Regions from separate parts of the Homo sapiens genome. Here region 1 is linked to region 2. Evidence: promoter capture Hi-C in human tissues and cell types (Jung and others, 2019). All regions are on one chromosome and are shown on one strand. The core of a region is centred on a gene start or on the middle of the fragment in contact, and the rest is flanking DNA. Distances in the headings are between cores, read along the strand shown.

Evidence for each region. Contacts are between HindIII fragments. The study calls those that stand out against the background at their distance.
Region 1: the fragment with the promoter of PCMTD2 here is called in contact with the fragment with the promoter of GMEB2 in region 2 in 1 of the 25 tissues and cell types used here (dorsolateral prefrontal cortex).

The regions. Positions count from the first base shown.
Region 1 is chr20:64,252,698-64,258,345 of GRCh38, forward strand. It overlaps PCMTD2 (protein-L-isoaspartate (D-aspartate) O-methyltransferase domain containing 2), which reads left to right and starts at 3,051. Exons shown (of 6, transcript NM_018257.3): 1 at 3,051-3,173. The HindIII fragment of the contact is 11,329 bases long and covers 1-5,648 here.
Region 2 is chr20:63,623,007-63,629,032 of GRCh38, forward strand. GMEB2 (glucocorticoid modulatory element binding protein 2) reads right to left here and starts at 4,095. Exons shown (of 10, transcript NM_012384.5): 1 at 3,950-4,095. MHENCR (melanoma highly expressed competing endogenous lncRNA for miR-425 and miR-489) reads left to right here and starts at 4,229. Exons shown (of 2, transcript NR_132417.1): 1 at 4,229-4,386; 2 at 5,184-5,818. RefSeq lists silencers at 3,457-3,996, 4,087-4,536. The HindIII fragment of the contact is 46,766 bases long and covers 1-6,026 here.

The DNA.
Region 1 (5,648 bases), core at 1,801-4,300, 630 kb after region 2:
TCCGTCCGAGGCTCCTCCTGCAGATACAACACAGATGAGTGGAGAGATGCAAGGGGATAGGCGAGGGGACACTGAAGACATACTCAGAAAGCTCCCCGTGGCTGGGTGTGGGAGAAGCCTGGAGGAGGGTGACAGCAGCAGTTGGATTCCCATCCACCTTCCTGTGCTTACTACTAGCTGGTAAGTACAAGAAGCCAGCGAACCTCTTGCAGTTTCAGTTCCCTCATCTGTAAAATGGAGGTATCAGTGTCGTCAAGCCAAAGGCTGCCAGGAACCTGCCTGTAATTGAATGAGTTGGGATTATCACTCATTGCAGCGAGAGGGATGCAGATCATGGAGAACTGCAAGGCATCTCAGTAAGAGGTGTCGGGAAAAGTTACTAAAGGTTATGGGCTTGAGTTGGGTGATTTTTTTCATGGATTAGATGCTGTCAGGAATTGGGGGAGTGGATGGGGGGAAAGGGTGGTTCTCTGGGCATCTCAGTAGATGTTATCTGTGAGGAGGCCAGGGCAGAGGGAGGCTCAGCTGTAGCTGGTAGAGGAGCGGGGGTCATTGTTACTAACTTGGAGATGATATGTCTTAGATTTTGTGGGTGGCACAGTTACCCTGTTTTTGTTTGTGCTTAGACAAAATTATGACGTGGCCTTGGATCATGATGGTGCTCCTCTACAAAATTATTTATGTCCAACAGGAGACCCCATGGCCTCGATCTGAGTGCCAGGCCAGCTCCTGATGTCACGGTCCACTTTTCTTCTTGGAGGTCATACTAGTACCTATTTCATGGAAATAACCCATGTAGAGTGCTCAGTATATACCCTGTGAAGGGTTATGAATGCTGATGGTAGTGGAAGCTGATGTGGAGGGGAATGGTGGAGACACCTTGGAAAACCAAGCAAGAGTCTGAAGTTGTGGCAGGCCGGGTCTCACTAACGCAGGCCTCCATTACAGCTGTCCCAGCACGGACTGAGTAGCCAGGTTAAACATTAAAAGCTGATTGAGCCAATGCCCTTATACAAAGGTTGGAATGTAACAAAGAGCCCACCAAGAGTTTTGCCTAGGCTCTTCCTGGGCCTTGAAGCATGACAAGATAACGAAGGAACTCTTAACAGGACCCTTTTTAGGATTAAACAAGTTGTATTAGGGATCTGAAGAAACTCCCCAGGCCTCCACAAACAAGTTTATGGGGGTCTAAAGGAATTCCCCATATCATTATGATTTAGCAGGAGACAAGATAAGGGTAATCACCCCAGCACCTAGACCCATTTAGATTAAGTAAACTTACTGAGGCTCCAGAAGAGGGTCTTCAGGACTCAACCTTAGTCATAGATTAAAAGAAGTTAATCACTTATGTCTGTAGATGAATGCACACTTACATGTAGACATACAGCTTAGAAGGTATACGAGCTTTGGAAAACTTTGTAATTTTGAGTTGGTATGGTGATAATTTCCAGGCCTTCTCCTTGTAACCGGTTACAGAAATAAAACCTCTCTTACTCTCCAGCTCATTTGCATCTTGTTATTGGGCCAGGAGAAGTAGTAGCCCGACCCTCAGTTGGGTCCAGGAACAAAGGGAGTGTCTGAAGACAGCAGTGATGTGATCACCTGTTTTAGGAGGACCACTCGCCAGAGCCCAGGGGAATGGTGGGAGGGGTGGGGAGAGGTGAGGGGAGCTGGGACAGGGCAAGGAGGGATGTATGGAGGACGTGTCCCCTGGCAGTAGGAAGAGAGTCAAGGATGACTCCAGGGCTTCTGTAATTTGAAACAGTCACAAATAACCACAAGCTCTCAGGTGGAAGGACACTGAGAGCCCCATGAAGGTCATGAGGTGGTGGGCCACCTCAGGTCCGTGGATCCAGGACCATGGATCAACAAGAGAAGTGAGGTCTCCCTGGGACCACATAACGTGGTGAAGGCACCGGCCTTTGGTTTTCAAACTCTGCTCCTAAGTGGAGCTCCAGGGTCTGGGGAGGAATGCCGAGTTAGGAGGGAGGCGGGAACCGGAGACCCAGGCCCACTCGTCCGCCCCAGCGACGCTGGCACTTGCACATATGAGGCGGCTTGCATGGCTGTGCTTGAAGAAAGGGTTCTGCAGCTACAGCCTATCTGCAAAGCCCCACGCGAAGTTTGGGCAATGGGCTGTGTGAACCCAGAAAATGGGAGACAGGTCTCAGTTAATTTACAAAGTTTATTTTGCCAAGGGTGAGGACGCGCCCGTGACACAGCCTCAGGAAGTCCTGACATGTGCCCAAGGTGGTCGGGGCACAGCTTGGTTTTATACATTTAGGGAGACAGGATACATCCATCGATACATGTAAGAAGCACATCGGTTCGGTCTGGAAAGACGGGACAACTTGAAGCAAAGGCAGGAAGACTCCAAGCGGGGAGGGAGCGTCCAGGCCACAGATAGGTGAGACACCAACGGTTAAATTCTTTTGAGTTTCTCATTTGCCTTTTCAAAGGAGGCAAATCAGATATGTATCTATCTAAGTGAGCAGAGGAGTGACTTTGAATGGAATGGGAAGCAGGCCTGCCCTAAGCAGTTTCCTGCTGGAGTTTTCCTTAGTGATCTTGGGGGCCCAGGATATCTTCCTTTCACAGCTGATTTCACAAAGCCGGCTGGGTAGGAGGGCCCCAGGGCCGGGTGGCCGTCCGCGTGGCAGGGCGGGGGTCCCAGGGCGGCTGTGCTTGGTGCTGGGAGGCCGCCCGAGGGCAGCGCCGGCCCCGAGTCAGCAGCCGCAGGGCACCCTGGAGATGCGGAACGCCCCCAGCCGTGGGTCAGCAAAGGCGTCTCAGGTGACCCTTAGGGAGGGCTTCTGAGGCAGCCCGTGCGGGGTCCGTCCTGGCTGAGCACTGCGCGGACGGCGCGCCCGCGAGACTCGGACCCGGCCTAGGGCTCAGCGAGCTCTCAGCGGGGCGGGCGGACGCAGGCAGCCCAGGGGAGTGGGGCCCGCCCTGCGCCGCCATCACCCCTTTAAGTGCCAGGCCCGCGGCGCATGCGCAGTCAGGCCGTTGTGCGCAGGCGCAGAGGCGGCGGCGGCGGCGGCGGCGGCGGATGTTTACGGCGGCCGAGGTTGGAGCGGCGCTGCTCGGCCGCGGACACACGAGGGACGCGCCCGAGGAGCTGCAGGTGGCAGCCCAGGCGGTCCGAACCCGTCGGCCGGCCGAGCCTGGAGGTAGAGCCGCCGCCGCCGCCGCCGCCCCTCGGTCCGGCCTGCGGCGAGCGGGTGGTGTGTCCCCTCGGCCCCTTCCCTCCTCCTTCCCCACCCCCGGCACCCCTGCGCCCGGAGCTCTCCTCTGGGGGCGTCGCTCCTCCCCACCTCGGGCACCCTCACCTCCCCCCAGCGGCCTCCAGGGCGTCCCGCGTTTCTCTCTCCGAGCGCTCGCGGTTTCCCGTCGGTCTCTCCCGGTGCCCGTTGCTCACTCACACTCTTGGGTCTGGTTAGTCCAGACCTGCAGCTTGTCTTTGACTTCCCAAGTGGGAAACGTTTGCAGTTCCAAGGCAAGCCAAGAGCTAAGGTTTAGAACAAAGTCTGCCTTGGACCCTTTCAGAAGATGACAGGATTTTTTAAAAAAATAATTGCGCCCCCCCGCCCCGTGCCTTGGAGATAGTAAGAATTGGAGCAGAGCACTGGGACTTCAATTCACGCATGGAAAGAGATCTTTGTTAGTTGGAGGAAGGAGAACTTGCCTGAGCTTCGGGCCTTTGTTTTGTTTTTGTGAGAGGGACGTGTCTCCTAAATGAATGTTTGCTCCAGCGTTGCACCTCAAATAAGTCACCTAAATATCCACGCCCTCTTTATCCACCCCCTCTTTACTCGTGTGACTAGAATAGTTTTCATTTTTCTTCTCAAGGGAATGGCTAAACAGCTCCTATCTGGGCGTTTGATAGACTGTCATTCAAGAATGAGTGAAGTTGAGGTGCCTATAAGCAACTCAGAAATTGTTGTGGCCACGCTTGGGGGAAATAGAGCCCTACACTCAGGTGATGAGAGGAGACCTCAGAGGTGACCGATCCAGGGCCTTGCTCCCTGCGCCACCCCAGCTCGTACCTCCAGTGGAACTTGGCTGGGCTTATCAAGAGCTCCTTTCATTCATTGCAACTTCATTTGTTAGAAAGCTTCTCTGTGTATTTAGTAGGCATTGTCTCCAACATGTACCACTGGTCTGGCTTTTGTTAGGCCCATTAATAGTGTACATGTGACAGCCTTTCAAGTATAGGTGCTCCCCGGCTTACGGTGGGGTCGCATCCCAGTAAACACATCGTTAAACCTGAAGTCGAACCATCCGAAGTCGGAGACCATCTGTATTTGAAAAAAGTCCCTTTGCATTGCTTGTAAGAGTTCTGGTTTTCAAGGTGAGAAATCTGTTTGTGTGTTTGTTTGATCATTCTGCCCAAAGGAGATGTGGCTTTGGGTCCTTTTCCCCACTCATCTTCCACAATGAATTACTTTGTCCATATTACCCTAAAGAAGTGACATCCAAGTTGGAATGTGATCTTCCGTATGTCGCCTCCCAAAACCCCACTACCATAGCTTCATGCTTGTGTTGACACAGCCACAATCACAACTCAGGTGTCAGTTCTGAGACCTTCCCATGCCTGTCGCCACTCAGCAAGTGTTCTTCATGTGCCCTGGCAGTTCGCATTGTAAGGAGCAGCCAGGTTGTTATGGACTGTTGCTAGTTACCACAGAGTAGTGAATTATATTAAGGATTAATTACAGCAGACAATGTGCACAGTATCATCGAGTGCAGCGTTCTAAAAATGATTCTACACTTTTACTTTGAAAAATTGGATTTGACCAGATTGTAGAATCTGGGTGAAAATGATAGGATTTGGTTTGGCGAAGAGCTTTGTTGTCGGTGTTTTTGGTGACATCATGACTGATCATATCGATGGTTTTCAGTGCGAGGGAGTGTTAGATTACCAGACAAAGATGGTAATAAATATCAGACCCCACAGCTATTCACATGGATCCTACCAGTGGCAATAGGTATAGATAGGGTTACCCCATCGTCAAAAGGTTACCGGTGTGTTGTGTGGTAAAGAACGTTGCTGTCTTGAGTATTTTTAAAAGCTGCACTGGTGTGGTATTAAAAACACAGGCCTTTTGCCATACAGTCCTGGGTTTGAATGCAGCCCCCTCCTCACAAACTGGCTATGTGATCATGAACAAATTAACCGGCCAGCTCCAATTTGCTTCTTAATGTTGTGAAGTGTAAATGAGGCCATGACTGGCAGGTGGTACCTGGAAAAAGGTGCTTGTTTTTACTAAAAAGCTGTCTGAACTTTCAAATTAAGGCAGAGTTCAAAATAAGTGATAGTTACTTAGTGGAAAATGAAACCTATCCAACATACAGTTTGAGGTTACCTTCTAGAGATGTGGCATTGAGACAATGTTGGAACATTATATACAGGCTTCTGGGTGAAGAGGTGGCTTTGACTGAGGACGGTATGCGATTTTCCAGCTCTTTTCCTAAATAGACCCTTAAGCATCCAAACACATGATTCCGCTTTTAACCACTGACCCAAATTTTAAGATGACTGTGGTAGGCTAGGGTGCAGCCTCAGAACTGAGTGGCTTATCCAGGATTAAAGTTGACCTCATTAGGACTTAATTCCATCTAAGTCTAAGTCAGCTGGCTGTGGA
Region 2 (6,026 bases), core at 2,845-5,344:
CACCAGTGAGGGCTCCACAGGAACACTACTCAAAGTATTCACGGAACACATCTAAACACAAGCACTAAGGACTAAGTGCGAGGGACAAGAAAATATTCCCCGTTTCCTGTTTCAGGAGGGTATCGAAAATGAGTGATGGAAGGAAAATGTATTGTTTAAATGAGGAAAAAAAATTTTTACAAATTAAGAACATCCTGGAACATGATGAGCCGTTTACTGTCACTCAATTTAAATGGTGGCCATCTAGGACAGAGCGCCTAAGGGGAAAGGGGGCTCACAGGTGAACCCCTCCAGCTGCTGGTGGGCAATTTCCCATTAGGGCATCAGGGTCTCTGAAGACTGTCTTCAGATGCTTTTTAGCCAGGAAAGTTACAATGATGAATTCGTTTACACTGGCGGAATTACTTCGTATTTCTCAAATATAATGTTTTCACTAGCATAACTTTGTTGTTGTAGACTTAGGCTTCAAAATAAAGAACTTTAAACAAACATGAATAAAAAGCCACTTTAGGCCGGGCGCGGTGGCTCACACTTGTAATCCCAGCACTTTGGGAGGCCGCGGCGGGTGGATCATAAGGTCAGAAGTTCAAAGACCAGCCTGATCAATACGGTGAAACCCCGTCTCTACTAAAAATACAAAAATTAGCCGGGCGCGGTGGCAGGTGCCTGTAATCTCAGCTACTTGGGAGGCTGAGGCAGGAGAATCGCTTGAACCTGGGCAGCAGAGGTTGCAGTGAGCCAAGATCATGCCACTGCACTCAAGCCTGGGTGACAGAGTGAGACTCTCTCTTAAAAAAAAAAAGCCACTTTAAAATTTTACTCAGGCCAGGTGTGGTGGCTCACGCCCATAATCCTAGCACTTTGGGAGGCCGAGGCGAGCAGATCACCTGAGGTCAGGAGTTAGACCAGCCTGGCCAACATGGTAAAACCTTGTCTCTACTGAAAACACAAAAATTAGCTGGGCGTGGTGGTGTGCCCATGTAATCCCAGCTACTCAGGAGGCTGAAGTGAGAGAACTGCTTGAACCCGGGAGGCAGAGGCTGCAGTGTGCCAAGACTGCACCACTACACTTCAGCCTGGGCGACAGAGCAAGACCCTGTCTCAGAAAAAAAAAAAATTCAAAAATTTGGCCAGGCGTGGTGGCTCACGCCTGTAATCCCATCACTTTGGAAGGCCGAGGCGGGTGGATCACCTGAGGTCAGGAATTCAAGACCAGCCTGGCCACCATGATGAAACCCTGTCTCTACTAAAAATACAAAAAAAAAAAAACAAATTGGCCGGGCATGGTGGCGGGTGCCTGTAATCCCACCTACTTGGGAGGCTGAGGCAGGAGAATCTCTCGAACTCCGGAGGCAGAGGTTGCAGCGAGCCAAGATTGTGCCACTGCACTCCAGCCTAGACAACAGAGCGAGACTCTGTCTCAAAAAAAAAAAAATTAAAATTAAAAAATAAAAATTTCATTTAAAATACTACTGATCTCCCGTGCTGACTTCTCGGGGTTTAACTCTCACTGAGGAGACGCTGCTTTCATAAGGGTAAGCTCAGCAGGGGCAACTAAAGTCATTTAAGCAGAGAGCTGCAAAGAGGCAACAGCCTCACTGCAGGCAGGGGTCCTCGTCACAGCTTCAGGGCTTTGCAGAGGATTACGCAATGTACACGCACAAAACTGAATTCCAGCCTCTCCATTGGCAACTGCATACATACATATATTCTTTTTTTGAGACGGAGTCTCGCTCTGTAGCCCAGGTTGGACTGCAGTGGCCCGATCTCGGCTCAATGCAAGCTCTGCCTCCCGGGTTCAAGCGATTCTCTTGCCTCAGCCTCCTGAGTAGCTGGGATTACAGGCGCCCACCACCACGCCCGGCTAATTTTTGTATTTTTAGTAGAGACGGGGTTTCACCATGTTGGCCAGGACAGTCTCGATCTCCTGACCTCGTGATCCGCCCGCCTCTGCCTCCCAAAGTGCTGGGATTACAGGCGTGAGCCACTGAGCCTGGCCTCCAATGGCAACTATATTAAAGGTTCAAAGCAATATGCACAAAAGTTACCTCACAGAAAATAGTGCAAGTCCTTGATACAATGCTCTTTAGACACAGAAGAAGCACTATAGAATAGAGCACCTCGCCCTATTGCCTTCCCAAGGGCGAGCACCCCCTCCTCTCTCCACAGCTCCTTCTTTGTTTTTTTGAGATGGAGTCTCGCTCTGTCACCCAGGCTGGAGTGCAATGGCAAAATCTTGGCTCACTGCAACCTCCGCCTCCCGGGTTGAAGTGATTCTCCTGCCTCAGCCTCCCGAGTAGCTGGGACTACAGGCACCCAACACGCCTAGCTAATTTTTGCATTTTTGGTAGAGACGGGGTTTCATCATGTTGGCCAGGCTGGTCTCGAACTCCTGACCTCCAGTGATCCTCCCACCTTGACCTCCCATAGTGCTGGGATTATAGGTGTGAGCCACTACACCTGGCCTCTCCACAGCCCCTTCTGTGTTGAAGCCAAGACCCACCCAGCTTTGATCCCAAGGCTTGGGTTCCCCACTAGTGTGAAGTGAGTTTCCAAATTATTAGGTAAATCAGATATGAGAAAATATTTTATTTTACTTTTTTTTTTTTGAGACGCAATCTTGCTCCGTCACCCAGGCTGGAGTGCAATGGCACCATCTCCACTCACTGCAACCTCTGCCTTCTGGGTTCAAGCAATTCTCCTGCCTCAGCCTCCCAACTAGCTGGGATTACAAGTGCACACCACCACGCCCGGCTAACTTTTGTATTTTTAGTAGAGACAGGGTTTCACCGTGTTAGCCAGGCTGCTCTCAAACTCCTGACCTCATGATCCGCCCACGTCGGGCTCCCAAAGTGGTGGGATTACAGGTGTGAGCCATCACACCTGGCCCAAGAAAATATTTTTAAACTAGTATTCTTGACCGGCACGGTCAACACTGATGTAATTGAAACTGTTGTATTTGAAGTGTTAGCAAAGAAAGAGAATTCTGGTTCAACAGAAAAGTCAGTCACGACTTTTCAGTCACGCATGAATTACACAGTAACCAAATAGATAACATGCCATGACTGACGACGGGCCCACAACAAATCAGCTCCGACCAACAGGGTCCACACCACCATGGGTCTACACAGATCCAGGTCCCGCCTGTGAGCCTACAGTGACGCGGGCCCCTGTGGGGTGGTCCCTGCAGGTCAGGTCCCTGAGAGTGGGTCCCAGTGGGGTGATCCCTGCGGGTCGCGTCCCTGCGAGTTGGGTGCCTGCCGGGTGGCCCCTGCGGGTCGGGTGCCTGCGGGGTGGTCCCTATGGGTCGCGTCCCTGCGGGTCGGGTGCCTGCGGGGTGGCCCCTGGGAATCGCGTCCCTGCGGGTCGGGTGCCTGCGGGGTGGCCCCTGGGGATCGCGTCCCTGCGGGTCGGGTGCCTGCGGGGTGGCCCCTGGGGATCGCGTCCCTGCGGGTCGGGTGCCTGCGGGGTGGTCCTTGTGGGTCGCGTCCCTGTGGGGTGGTCCCTGTGGGTCGCGTCCCTGTGGGGTGGCCCCTGCGGGTCGCGTGGTGGCCCCTGCGGGTCGGGTGCCTGCGGGGTGGTCCCTGTGGGTCGCGTCCCTGCGGGTCGGGTGCCTGCGGGGTGGTCCCTGCGGGTCGCACCCCTGCGGCGTGGTCCCCCCGGGATGGGTCCACCGAGGAGGCCGCTGGAGGCCGAGCCCGCGCCCGCCCGCGGCGCCAAGATGGAGGCAGGAAGCGCCGCCGCCCGCGCCCGCCACCGCCCGCGCCGCCCGCCTGACGCCGCCGTTGCGCCTGACGCCGCCGCCCGCGCGGCCGCCCCTCCCCCGGCCCTCCCCTCCCCCCGCCGTAACGTCCTGACGCTCCGCAGGGACCCCTGACTGGACGGCGGCGCGTGAGCGGAGCGAGAGGCCTCGCCGCGGGGGGGCCGCGGGCTCGCCGGCGCCGCTTACCTGGGGCCGCGCCGGGCCTGCTTAGGCACCCGGCGGGGGCGGCGGCGTCGGGAGCTGCGGCGGCGGCGGGCGGCGGCGGCGGCCGCGGGCTTCGCTCCTTGTTGGGGATTCGGCGGCGGCGGCGGCGCGGGCGCGCGCTTCCTAGTGACGCAGGCGGCGGGGCCGCGCACGCACGGGGCTGGGAGGGCCGGACACTTATTTGGCGCTCGCGGAGGAGGAAGGCGGGGCCGTGAAATAAGGCCCGACGGGCCCCGGGGCGCGTGCGCGGACCGACACTGTCAGCTCCTAACGCCGCAGGTTCCTCCTGGTCCCCGAGGCCCCCGGTCGGGCGTTGCCTGCCCCGCGCGGGCGGCCGGGCCGAGGGACGATGGTCAGTGGACGGACGGCGCCAGGGAGCAGTGCCCACGCGCGGCAGGGCGGTACCTTCAGGCCTCCAGGTACGGGCGCTCCTCGCCCGGACGCTGCTGTGTGTGAATGGGCGCGAGGGGACTCCCCTGCGGGGCGGACGCCTGAACACGAGGCTGTGGAGGAGGACGCTGTAGGGTGCGCGGACTCACGCGGAACATGCCAGAGGCTCAGCCAGCCACGGCGCTCCCAGCGTGGAGGGCGAGGGGCATCCGGGAGCGGCCGGGAGGGCTCGGTCACCCCTCAAGCTGTCACCCCAGTCCCACAACCAGCACCCCGATCCTATCGCAGTCCCACAGCCGACACCCCGATCCCACCCCTGCCCAACAGCCGGCACCCACCCCAATCCCATAGCTAACACCCCGGTCCCACCGCTGTCCCACGGCCGGCACCCCGATCCCACCCCAGTCCCGCAGCTGGCACCCCGATCCCACCCCAGCCCAACAGCTGGCACCCACCCCGATCCCACCGCTGTCCCACAGCCGGCACCCCGATCCCACCCCAGTCCCGCAGCCGGCACCCCGATCCCACAGCCGGCACTCACCCCGATCGCATAGCATAGCTGATACCCCGATCCCACCCCAGTCCCATAGCCAGCACCCCGATCCCACCCCAGTCCCATAGCCAGCACCTCGATCCCATAGATGACACCCCGATCCCGCCCCAGTCCTATAGCCCGCACCCCGATCCCACCCGAGTCCCGCAGCCGGCACCCCATCCCACCCATGTCCCACAGTCGGCACCCCGATCCCACTCGGATCCGGCAGCCAGCTTGGATCCTGTGGCCCTCCTCCAGCCCCCAGGGCTCATTTATATGTTTTATTGGCAGAGGCTGGGGCTGGCTCTGTTGGCCTCTGTGCTGGGTTTCTTCCTCTGCACCGCAGGACTGGCTCTCCTGACCTCTCCAGGTGTCATCGAACACCCTTGTGCTTGCTGTCACCCGCTGCCTGTCTGCAGGATCCCGGATTCCGTATCAGGGGACCGAAATTAGTCGGAAAATAGGAAGCAGGTGCTCGCTTGGATGGAACCCTGACCCTGTGCTCACACTTGTAGGAGGAGGGCTCTGCAGGCCGCCTCCCGGAACGGGAGGTTCCCAAGCCACTGCACTTCGGAGGGGCTGTAATTAGAGTTGCACATTCATTCAGTTCCCAGTAAAGTAGAACGTGCTCCAGCCAGTGAGGAAAAGGTGTTTTTAAAAATTAGATTGGCCGAGTGCGGTGGCTCATGCCTTTTACCTCAACACTTTGGGAGACAAAGGTGGGAGGATCACCTGTGGCCAGGAGTTCAAGACCAGCCTGGGCAACAGAGCCTGTCTCTGGGGAAGAATAAAAAAAAAAATTGAGCCTTTGTCAGTGCTACTATTTTATTATCTGGTAAATATGAGAGGGTTCACGCGGTCTATGTGTGTCATTTATCTGAGTTTGCCTATCGTCACGTTTTGGAAATAAATGTCAATAAAGTCGAAGAGGAGTGCTGAGGGGGGCCTGGGGATGGGAGGGTGGCTACATCATGCCTGTGTGTTGCGCAAGCCCACCGAGGTCGGCCTGGGGTGAGCCCTGGGGCCTGTTCTGCCTCCTTCACTCTGGGGCTCCAAGAGACAAACTGGGCAACAAGAGAGAAACTCCATCTAAAAAAAAAGAAAAATCACCTCCAAGATAACTTAGCTTTCTTC